Linked DNA regions of Homo sapiens: region 2 is linked to region 1. Evidence: promoter capture Hi-C in human tissues and cell types (Jung and others, 2019). All regions are on one chromosome and are shown on one strand. Each heading gives the region's core, a stretch centred on a gene start or on the middle of the fragment in contact. The rest is flanking DNA. Distances are from core to core; before and after follow the strand shown. Region 1 holds the start of NR1D1 (nuclear receptor subfamily 1 group D member 1). Region 2 overlaps PGAP3 (post-GPI attachment to proteins phospholipase 3).

Evidence for each region. The method cuts DNA at HindIII sites, captures the fragments that hold promoters and counts their contacts. A contact is called where the count stands out against the background at its distance.
Region 2: a fragment that was not itself captured here is called in contact with the fragment with the promoter of NR1D1 in region 1 in 1 of the 25 tissues and cell types used here (lymphoblastoid cells).

What each region holds. Positions count from the first base shown.
Region 1 is chr17:40,097,871-40,103,688 of GRCh38, forward strand. NR1D1 (nuclear receptor subfamily 1 group D member 1) reads right to left here and starts at 2,719. Exons shown (of 8, transcript NM_021724.5): 1 at 2,194-2,719. The coding sequence starts at 2,224. RefSeq lists silencers at 366-660, 1,184-1,533, 1,544-1,633 and enhancers at 863-2,062, 981-1,965, 1,966-2,949, 2,415-2,484, 2,965-3,084 and 1 more. The HindIII fragment of the contact is 7,590 bases long and covers 1-3,398 here.
Region 2 is chr17:39,680,628-39,686,445 of GRCh38, forward strand. PGAP3 (post-GPI attachment to proteins phospholipase 3) reads right to left here. Exons shown (of 8, transcript NM_033419.5): 2 at 5,295-5,392; 3 at 3,970-4,122. Among named protein-coding and RNA genes, the nearest start is that of PGAP3, 4.5 kb to the right of the region's middle. The HindIII fragment of the contact is 6,437 bases long and covers 343-5,818 here.

The DNA.
Region 1 (5,818 bases), core at 1,469-3,968:
GTAAAGAGAATGGAGGGTTTACAAAAGTAAGACAGTCACATTCCCCCCAGTTGGGGACATATATTCTCTGAAGGAAATGAAGGGAAGGAATCTGCCCAGCCTGGTTCCCCTGGCCTCTTAAGAGAGTGAGCCACAGTGGAGTCTATCCCTGTGTCCAAAAAGGACTTCGAGGTGCGAGTTGCAGGAGGTGGAAGTACAAACTGTCCAGCCTGGGGCTCTAAAATTCCCCCTTCAGATCTCAGCCTGGTAACAATGACCTTGGCTCTCTGGCCATTCAGGGACTTTGACCCTCTGGTTACATTGCCAATGAGGTGGCTGTGCTCCCGTGGTATTAGCAGGAGAAAAAGGTGACCTGCCTGCCACACCTCCGGCAAGCACCTAGATTGGTCTGCCATGGGCGGGGTGGGAGAAGGGAGGATCCCAGGACACATGTGACCTAACACATGCCATGCCACTGTGTCTGCAGAGGCACATGTCTTGCTCACCCACTGACACACACTGAACTGGGCAGGGCGGCCCTAAAATAGCTCAAGGTTGGTCAGGGTGAACCCAGCTCCTTGGAAAATAGTTGCACAACAGATCAGCTCCCCCGGTTTCAGGGCTGAGGTGGGGGATGGAATCATTAGTTGGCAGTAAATGAAGTTGACCTAGTTCACCCATCCCCCAAAAAGGAGTGAGACCTTCATGCAGAGGCTTCCAACGTGGAAGTGAGGAGCATACTCAAGAGTCTAGGTCTAGGTCTAGACCCATCACTACCAACTTATTTTGTGACCTAGAGGACATCAACTCCCCTCTTTGGGTCTCAGTTTTCCTTTCTGTGAGAAAAAAAGGACAGTATCATTTCAGCTATGATTGTGGGGTGCAGTTGCTTTGGGGAGCCCTTAGTAGGCAAACTGCAGCTTGTCTGGTGGAGATGGGGGTAAGACAATGCTCGCAGAACTAAGGAGAGAGAAGCTTGGGGAACAGGAATTTGTAATGTGGGGAAGCTGAGTCTAAATGCAGTACGGTGAAGTAGGTGCAAATAAGAGTGAAGTGGAAAGGAGTGAGAAGGGTGGTTAGGGGTGAGGTCTCTTTAGGGAGTGTAAAACAGAAGGCCATGAAAGGTCAGGAATGGCTCCATGTTACTTTGTTTTGGTGATGGGGGAGGGGGCCGGGCAGGCGGACCGGAAAAGGAGGCAGGCGGGGGCGGTGAGTCAGCCCAGCTTCACCCAGATCTCGGCGGGGCGGGGCAGGGCGGGAGCTGGGCCCTCAGCCGGCCTCACGTCCCTGCTCCACGTGTGCCTCTCGCACGTGGCTCCCCAACGAGGAACCCCGGAACTCGAGGCCCCGCCCTCCTCGCTTCCCGTCAATCGAGAGCAGTCGCCCCGCCTCCTACCCGCCCTTCCCCGGCCACCAGGTCGTGGGCTGGACCCCGAACGATAGCAGGGCCAGGACAACCTAGGGGAGGAGAGAAGGGAACACGCGTTGCCGGGGCGACCGGGGGGGCGGAGCTCATTATGTAACGAGGCCGGGAGGCAACGACCAATGGGGTGGCAGCCACGGCTTCTGCTGAATGAAAACAAACGCAGCACGTGGGCCCGGCTCTAGAGCCATGTGAGCCCTCCCGGCGGCCGGAGCCCTGTAGGTGCCCTCCCTCGGGCCGGGCACCACGCTCTGGACTCCTCAAGTGTCGCTCCCTCCTGTCACTGAGGATTCCCCAGTGAGATCCGAACGATTCTCCCAGCCCCTCCTTCCCTGAACCCCATCGCGCCACTCTTCTCAGATTCCCTCGCGCCTGCAGGAACTAGAGGAGGGGGAAGACAAGAGGGGAGGGGGTCCGTTTTCTGAGGCCAGGCATACTACAGCTGCAGGTAGTGGACAGATGGGGCCGTTTCGGGGCACTGTTCCAAAGCTCCCAGTCCCCCTAAATTCTTCGCTTCACCACCCGTACCTCCTCTCCATTTCCTCCTGCCCAGGGATTCGAGGCTCAAGGGAGCTTTGGGACTCTGAGGGGTGGTGATGGGGCGTTTCTGAGAGCATTTCCAGCCCGAACAAGCCGCTCTGGAAATCCCACACTAAAGCACCGCAGCACGTTAGCAAATCTCCGGGCCGAGGGACACCCCAGTCCCTTACAAAGTTCCTCTTTTTATAAGGCGTAGATGGAGGTGGGGAGACAGTGACAGGGAAAAGATGATAGTAAAGAAATCTCAGTACCTGTGTTGTTGTTGGAGTCCAGGGTCGTCATGTCTTCACCAGCTGAGAGCGGTCATTCAAACTGGACCTTGACTCAAACTAGAGGTTGCGATCGCCGCTGTTGCCCCCTGGGCACTGGCTAAGGGCGGGGAGTGGACCCCGCGACTCACGATCAGGATCCGAAGCACCCTGCAGCAAGGTCTTGGGGTGGCCGGACTGCAGCCCTGCAGAAGGGTTGGACGTTGAGGCAACGGAGTTCTGCTTTGCATGGGAAGAGCAGAGAGAGTGTGTAGGGGGAATCAGCCTGCAGTAGTTCTGGCTAGAAGGTAGCAAGGAGGGTCGGGTCTCTGCAGTGTACGGGGTGCCTCTGCCTGCCGGCTCCGCAGCGCTGCGGGGTGGCGAATCTGGAGCTCCCGGTGCAAAAGTCCCAGAGGAAGAGAGGTTGCAACCAGGAAGTAAGTAGGTGATGGGGAGAAACGGGGCACCGAGTCGCAAAGAGGCGAGACGTGTGCCCTGCTACGTTCCCTCGGCAGTAATATTTCACTCTGCCAATCTCAGCCGCCTTTTGCCCGAGCCTTTCCCTGGGACAGAGGGCTCTGCGCAGGCGCCAGCAGCCCAGGGTTCCCGGGCCGCACGCGGCACTGGAGCAGGTACCATGTGATCCCAGGGAGCGCCTCGTGCCCCAGTGACACACTTTTCCAACAGCCGGCACGTTGAGCTCTTGCGCGCCTGCGCAACGACAAGACTGTCGGGATTTGTAGTCCACCGACAAAGTGGGCGGACTGCGTGCCTTTCCCCTTTCTGCCTGGCAAAGCGCTTGCCGGGACCTGGGAGGAGCTGAGAGTGGGGTGGGGTGGGGTGCGCTGAAGAGTCAGGGTGGCGTGTTTAGAAAGCCTGTATGGCAGGGGCATGTGAATTTCTGGGGAGGGACTGGCAAGCTTGTTTGCTGTCTGGGAGATCAAAGCTAAGAGGCCCTTTCTGCAAACCTTGCAAACGTGAGGGCTTCACGTGATTGCAGGACTGACCTCGTCCTGAGGTTACTGGTGACCGGGAGAGAGAGAAGCCGGGGAGGGAGATTTCCCTGGAGTCAGGAGCTTAGGCTGCCCTCTGCTTCAGGGCAAAGTCCAGAGAAGGAAAGGAAATGTGACCCCCTTTCCCTTCTACTCGCCTTAGGGAGAACACCTCCAGGGGAAGGAGTTCCCACAGAGGTAGGGATGTCTGTAGGGACTCCCTGTTTGCTTGTATGACACCATTCCACCCACTCCAGTTGACTTTGGGGTGAGTCATTTCCCTTTGTCTGGGAAATAAAAAGGACAACAGAGGGGAACTAATAGTGAAAGTGCTTTGAGGTCCTAAAGTAATGGGGAAGAGGTGAGGCAGGGGGTGGGGGCAGAGTGACACCCCTGCCCCTCGGTGCTGGAGGATAAAATATGAATTCCACAGAAGATTACTACTCAGAGGGGAACATGTAGATCATCTTAAGCCTCCCTCTTTTTACTAGTGGGGAACAGGAAGCTTAGGAGAAGTGACCGACCCAAGGTCAGACGTCCATTGCTAGTTTCATCTGCCCACCCCGAATGGGAAGGTGGGTAGATGTACAAGTGAAATACTGAACAGGGGTTAGAAACAGCCAGCATTGCCGGGTGCTTTGGCTCATGCCTGTAATCCCAGCACTTTGTGAGGCTGAGGTGGGTTGATCACCTGAGGTCAGGAGTTTGAGACCAGCCTGACCAACACGGTGAAACCACGTCTCTACTAAAAATACAAAAATTAGCCGGATGTGGTGGTGGGTGCCTGTAATCCCAGCTAGTCAGGAGGCTGAGGCAGGAGAATCGCTAGAACCCGGGAGGTGGAGGTTGCAGTGAGCCGAGATCGCCATTGCACTCCGGCCTGGGGGATAGAGTGAGACTCTGTCTCCAAAACAAACAAACAAAAAACAGCCAGTATTTCGCTTCAGAGCAGCAACTGTCCCATGAGTAATAACAGATCTCAAGTAGAGGAGATCTATCATGTTAGAGGGCTTGGGTCATGGAGGGGATGGAAGCTTCTTAGGCAGCGAAGGGAGAGGGAGCCTGAGCCACCTGCTGCTCCCGCTAATTCCTCCCCAGTCCCAGTGCTTCTAGAGAGGGTTTTCTTCACATAGGAAGCCCTTCTCCACAGGCAGCTCCTGGGATGGTATTGATGGATGCCTGGGAAACATGAAAGCCACCGAAAAGGTAGAGAAAAAGAATATGGGAGTCCGGGGGTGGTGGCTGACACCTGTAATCCCAGCATTTTGGGAGGCTGAAGTGGGCAGATCACCTGAGGTCAGGAGTTCGAGACCAGCCTGGCCAACATGGTGAAACCCCATCTCTACTAAAAATACAAAAATTAGCTGGGCGTGGTGGCGCACGCCTGTAGTCCCAGCCACTCGGGAGGCTGAGGCAGGAGAATTGCTTGAACCCAGGAGATGGAGATTGCAGTGAGCCGAGATCATGCCACTGCACAACAGCCTGGGCAACAGGGTGAGAGTCCATCTCAAAGAAAAAAAAAAAAGGCCAAGTGTGGTGGTGGCTCACACCTGTAATCCCAGCACTTGGGGAGGCCGAGGCAGGTGGATCACCCGAGGTCAGGAGTTTGAGACCAGCCTGGCCAACATGGAGAAACCTCGTCTCTACTAAAAATACAAAAATTAGCTGGGCGTGGTGGCGCACGCCTGTAGTCCCAGCTACTCTACTCGGGAGGCTGAGGCAGGAGAATTGCTTGAACCCGGGAGGCAGAGGTTGCAGTGACCTGAGATCGCGCCAGTGCACTCCAGCATGGGCAACAAGACCGAAACTCCATCTCAAAAAAAGAAAAAAAAAAAAAGAATAATAATATGAGCACAGGAGTAAACTGGGTAGTGAGGACAGTGAGGTTGACTGCAGGAGCTTGACCACTCACCCTCTGACTCCTTGTAGAAGATGAGCTTCCTGGAATGGGCTAGGCTTTAGCTTTGTTCTCCTGCTCCCAAGAAAAGTGGGAGAGAGAGGGCAGTGGGCTCTTCTCTGGCCCTTTGGCCCAGAGTTGGGAAGCTGCAGCAGAGTGTGGGAGCAACTGGGAGGGGCTAAAACAAACAAGGAAAGAGGCTTTTCAGGAAAACTTGGTTCTCAGCCTCCACCCCCTCTCCCTCCACCCTCTGGGCTCTGGAGGGAAAGCTAGGAGGTGAATTGCCCTGTCCTGCCCTTGCCTGCTCTCTGTGACCTTGACTCCAAGTCAGAGCCAGGGCCAGAGCCCAGGTGTCTGTCAGGGCTGGACTCAAAATCAGGACCCCTGGCGTGCATCTAGCTCCCCACAGCACAGCACCACCACTAGCACCCTCCCTTTACTTGGCCGGGGTCCTCCCCAAGGCCCACAGCTCTGTTTGCTGCTGTGGAGGTCCTACCCACCCCCTGTATACTTGCTGGATGTTTGTTCTTCTAGGAGTGGGAGCTGGGGTGGGTCAAGACTCCTCGCCTGCTGCAATCAGTGAGAAGGAGGAGGGAGCAGAGGTAGAGAGAGCTGAAATTCAGTCAGCCTGACTCTCCTCTTGGCAAAACCTGGGTGGTTCTGCAGTCTGTGTGTGGTGTGAAGGCAGAGGCTGGGAGGGAGGGGGCAAAGGAGAGGGGTTACCCCCTTGCTCCTTCCT
Region 2 (5,818 bases), core at 2,311-4,810, 420 kb before region 1:
AGCAGAAGCCTCTCTCCTTCCTGTGCTCATCCCGGGAAGCACAATCCAAGCACACTATCTCCCAGTTCTCCACCTGCCCCTCCGGCTACTCCTTCTGTCTCTGTGTCTGGCTCATCTTCCTTTAGCCAGCCATTACATTTTGGGGTTCCCCAGGGCTTTGCCCTAGATCCCTTCTCTTTTCACTAGGCTCTCCTGGGGTGATCTCATCCACACCCACAGCTTCTATCACTGTCTTTTTTTTTTTTAAAGACAGGTCACCCTTTGTCACCCGGGCTAGAGCAACAAGAGTACAGTGACAGGATCACAGCTCACTGCAGCCTCGACCTCCTGGGCTCAAGTGATCCTCCCACCTCAGCCTCCTACTAGCTGGGACTACGGGCATGTGCCACCAGGCCTGGCTTATTTTTTTTGTATTTTTGGTAGAGACGGGGTTTCACCATGTTGCCCAGGGTGGTCTGGAACTTGTGAGCTCAAGCAATCCGCCCACTTCAGCCTTCCAAAGTGCTGGAACCGCAGGTGTGAGCCACTGCGCCCGGCCTCCATCACTGTCTTATAAGCAGAAACACAAGGGGTCATCCCTTACTGCTCTTTCCTCATCTAATCCACTCTTGAAGTTTATCAGCATAGCCAAGATGTTGAAAGTGTGGACTCTGGAGCCAGATGCCTGAATTCAAACCCTGGCTCGGTGATCTGTGGCTGGACTTAACCTTTTCAGTCCTTGGTTTCCTCATCTATAAACTGGGGATGAGAATAATAATACCTATAAGCTGCGTTAAACAAAAATTACGGGAGGCCATTGTTCTGGATTGAGCCCCCGCACTAGACCCAAGAGACCAGACAAAAATGAAGTCACTCATGCTAAATGCCACATAATCAAACTGAAACTTTTTTTTTTTCTGAGACGGAGTTTCACTGTTGTTGCCCAGGCGGGAGTGCAATGGCGTGATCTCAGCTCACCGCAACCTCCGCCTTCCGGGTTCAAGTGATTTTCCTGCCTCAGCCTCCCAAGTATCTGGTACTAAAGGCATGCAACACTATGCCCAGCTAATTTTGTATTTTTAGTAGAGACAGGGTTTCTTCATGTTGGTCAGGCTGGTCTTGAACTCCTGACCTCAGGTGATCCACCCGCCTTGGCCTCCCAAAGTGCTGGGATTACACGCCTGAGCCACCGCACTTGATCTTCAAACTGAAACTTTAAGGTAACTGATAGGTCCCAAAACAGACCACTTTTTCCTGAAAACAGGAGAGTCCAGTCTACCCAAGTAAGGAAGTCTCCTCTGCTTTAACCCTTATAAAAAAAAACCTGATGTGGGCCGGGCGCAGTGGCTCATGCCTGTAATCTCAGCACTTTGGGAGGCCGAGGCAGGCGGATCACGAGATCAGGAGATCGAGACTATCCTGGCTAACATGGTGAAACCCCATCTCTACTAAAAATACACACACAAAAAATTAGCCAGGTGTGGTGGTGGGCGCCTGTAGTCCCAGCTACTTGGGAGGCTGAGGCAGGAGAATGGCGTGAACCCGGAAGGCAGAGCTTGCAGTGGGCCAAGATGGCGCCACTGCACTCCAGCCTGGGTGACAGAGTGAGACTCTGTCTCAAAAAAAAAAAAAAAAAAAAAAAAAAAAAAAAAAAATCTGATGTTAACCAATCAGGTTTCTTTCTATTGTTCTGTTTCCTGGTTCCCACCTTACAAAACCCACTGTTCTGCTATTGCCCAATGGAAACTTGCATTCTATTTTGTAGAACGGAGGCTGCACCAATTCATGAATCACAAATTAAAGCCAATTGGCTCTATAAGTAAGTTTGCTGTAATTTGTCTTTTGCCACTTGTTATGGATGAACAAGCTTAATACTTATAAAATGCTTAGAGTGATGCCTGGCATACAGTATGAGCTATGTATGTATTTGTTAAGGAAATAAATTTTTAAAAAGCTTTAATGTTACCTCCAAAACACAGCTCAAGTGTACTTCTCTTCAATGCCCAAGACCCATGCCACCTCTCTAGTCTAGCTACTGGGCCCTGTGCTAAAACTACCAACTGGTCTACTGCATCCACTCCCGCCCCCTTCAATCTGTTCTCTACACAGTAGCCAGAATGAGCTTTCCAAAGGGCAAATCTATTCATGAAACAACTTTTCTCCTCAACCCTCATTTAAAATCCCTCCGTAGGCCGAGCACGGTGGCTGATGCCTGTAATCCCAGCACTTTGGGAGGGTGAGGTGGGCGGATCACGAGGTCAGGAGTTCAAGACCAGCCTGGCCAACATAGTGAAACCCCATCTCTACTAAAAATACAAAAATTAGCCAGGCATGGTGGCACATGCCTGTAGTCCCAGCTGCTCAGGAGGCTGAGGCAGGAGAATCGCTTGAACTGGGAGGCAGAGGTTGCAGCGAGCCAAGATAGCGCCACTGCACTCCAGCTGGGGCAACAGAGTGAGACTTTGTCTCAAATAAAATAAAATAAAATAAAATAAAATCCCTCCGTACTTCCTGATGCTTTGAGAGTCAAGATCTCCAATGTGAGGCTCTCCATGGCTGGCCCCATCCACCACCCATCAGTCCGCCCAGCTCACACCCACTCTCTGATTTCCTGCATGTCAGGCTGCCTGGAATGACCCTCCCTCTCTCCCACCTGGGCACTTTCTGAGACTTCTCTTTAGAAGCCTTCCCTTACTCTTCTCAAATTTACCTAGTTAACATTCATGCATCCTTCCCACCTTACCTTTAATGCCCCTTCCCCAGGGAAGCCTTCCCTGATGGCCCCATGCTGGTCTTGGTCTGCCTTTACACACACCCCTGAAGCACCTCTCCCCGACTGCACTTTTTCATAGTTGTACTCTTACATTCAATTGTATGATTAGCACCAGAGGGCAGACTTCTGGATCTCCAGCAAAGTGCCTGGCATATAGTAGGTGCTCAACACCTGAGTGAATGGCTTCTGTGAGAGCAGGAAGGTGAGTGAATGGAAATTTTTTCCTTAAGGCTTACAGGGGCAGCTCCGACCTAGAGACATCCGTTGCAACCTTTCATTCTCACACCCTTCCCAAGGCCGTCACGGTCCATATCTGCACCCCAGTCTGTGCTTATCACACAATACCAGGCCCTGAATACAGCTCTTTAGACCAGCCGTACTGTGAAGCTGACAGCCCTTTCTGCACCTGCAGATGTAACCATACCTGGGCTTCTCCAGGGATGGTCTAAGCCTAGGCTGAGCTCGCCAGGTGCAGTGACTCACAACTGTAATCCCTGCACTTTGGGAGGCCGAGGTGGGTGGATCACCTGAGGTTGGGAGTTCGAGACCAGCCTGACCAACATGGAGAAACCCCGTCTCTACTAAAAATACAAAATTAGCCAGGTGTGGTGGCACGCGCCTATCATCCCAGCTACTTGGGAGGCTGAGGCAGGAGAATTGCTTGAACCCAGGAGGTGGAGGTTGCAGTGAGCCAAGATTGCGCCATTTGCACTCCAGCCTGGGTGACACAGTGAGACTCTGTCTCAAAAAAAAAAAAAAAAAAAAAAAAAAAAAGACTAGGCTGAGCTCTACACAGAGACTATGGCTGTGACTCCCCACCAGGCCTGGGCTGGAATTGAGATTGCTCCAAGTCCTCCAGAAGGGCCCTTGGAAAGACCTGTGGTCCCAGCATCCTCTTTAGCCCCCCATCTCCCCTCTGTGTTTGTAAACTGTCCTACTGGGTCTTTTAGTGGCTTCCTTCTTCAGGACAAGAAAAATGCCCTTCTTTCCTCTCTCCTTCCCAAACAGCCTGACCTAGGGCTCTGCTGGAAAGGTAAGGCCCGATTCAGCACCCTCCCTGTTTTCTCCCCAGGCTTTACCACCCTGCAGCTGCAACTTTAGCCCTGGGAAACAGAGGGGAAGCTGGTAAGTAGAAGCCCTGTTGGGTGTTAATAGGGATGTAGAGCTCCACCTTCCTAGATAAGAGGAGACAGCAGGAGTCCTGCTAGGTTACCTACCCAGGCGAAGGCCACACAGGTGTGGTACATGGGGGAGGAGGCTGGCACGAAGGTGCGGTAGCGGCAGAGCATCACCAGGCTGGCCAGGCCATTGAGAAACGAGGCCACGGCCGATGCCGGCTCTTGAAAGAACAGGAACCGGGAGAAGGGCCACTGAAAAAGGAGCAGATGAAGGAGGTTTGAAGGGCAGGCAACCCTCAACTGGCCCAGTCCACCTATTCTTGACATGCTGAAGCAACAGGTCCTCAGCTGAGTCCTCAGCTCTGGAGTTTGGCCAAAGCCTCAGGTTCAGTACCTCTTCAGACTAATGAGCCACCCTCCAGTGCCTAGTTAAGAGTTATACCCCCATCCTGGCCAGCAGGCACAGCACTGTAAGCCCTGATCTCTGGGAAGACCAGATGGGTCAGGGTAGATGACTCAGTATGGCCTGGTGGAAACAGCACAGAGTTGCCATCCAGAAGACACAGGTCCCAACCCCTCCTCTACCACTGACCACGGTCCTTTGAGCCTCAGCTTACTCTGTGAAAAACTGGGGTGAATACTTCCTGCCAACCTCAACAGGCCAGAATGAGATAATACTGGATTGAAACGTACCAGCAGGCCAGGCGCGGTGGCTCACGCCTGTAATCCCAGCACTTTGGGAAGCTGAGGCGAGAGGGTCACAAGGTCAGGAGATTGAGACCATCCTGGCTAACATGGTGAAACCCCATCTCTACTTAAAAAAAAAAAAAAAAAAATACAAAAAATTAGCTGGGTGTGGTGGCACACACCTGTAGTCCCAGCTACTTGGGAGGCTCAGGCATGAGAATTGCTTGAACCTGGGAGGTAGAGGTTGCAGTGAGCCAAGATCATGCCACTGCACTCCAGCCTGGGCGACAGAGGGAGACTCCATCTCAAAAAAAAAAACAAAAAACAAAAAACAAAAGAAAGAAAGGTACCAGCAAACTGTGCCTCGCTAGACAAGCTGAAGCATATTACTGTGAATCCAGACCCCTACTGGAGAAGCAACAGGAAACAAGCCACAGTAGGTAAGGGAATTTGTCCCTGCAGTAAGGTGGGCATCTCAACCACTCTAAGAGGCCCAGCACCACTCTCTGGGGAGACTCCAAAGCCTTCCAGATATTGCTACTCCAAATCCAGAGGCAGGACACATGGGTCCTATCCAATTCTATGGAAACCAGCAGATTTTGGGGAGAACAGGTAGCTGCCCCAAACACACACGCATTACCCCATGCCTCAGACTGCTTGGACAGTGTGGTCCAACCAGGGGGTATATTACTCCTACCACGCTACTACCATATGCCTACCCTGACCCTCCAACTCACCTTGCCATGGAACTGAGGCACTTTGTGACCTTCCTGGAGGTAGAGCCCAACGGTGACCCACATACACTCATACTTACAGTCGTCCCGACAGGTCCAGCCTGAAACAGACAAATGTGGCCTGGTGAACTCCCCAGCACAGAGAGGAAAGAGAGAGCATGAATGGGGTCCAAGCGCAAATGTAGGCCAAGAGGGCCTGTAAGTTGGAGAGAACCAGGAGAAATCTCAAAATTCTAGCTTCCCCTTTGAATGAATGAGAGATGATGAGATGTACACATAGGGGAAGGTGTATGTACGTATGTATGCATATTTTAGTGAGCAATTAGAGATATTCGTCTTTTTTTTGTTTGTTTTTTTGAGACAGTTTTGTTTTTGTTGCCCAGGCTGGAGTGCAATGGTGCGATCTCGGTTCACTGCAACCTCCGCCTCCTGGGTTCAAGCGATTCTCCTGCCTCAGGCTCCCGAGTAGCTGGGATTACAGGCATGCACCACCACACCCAACTAATTTTGTATTTTTAGTAGAGATG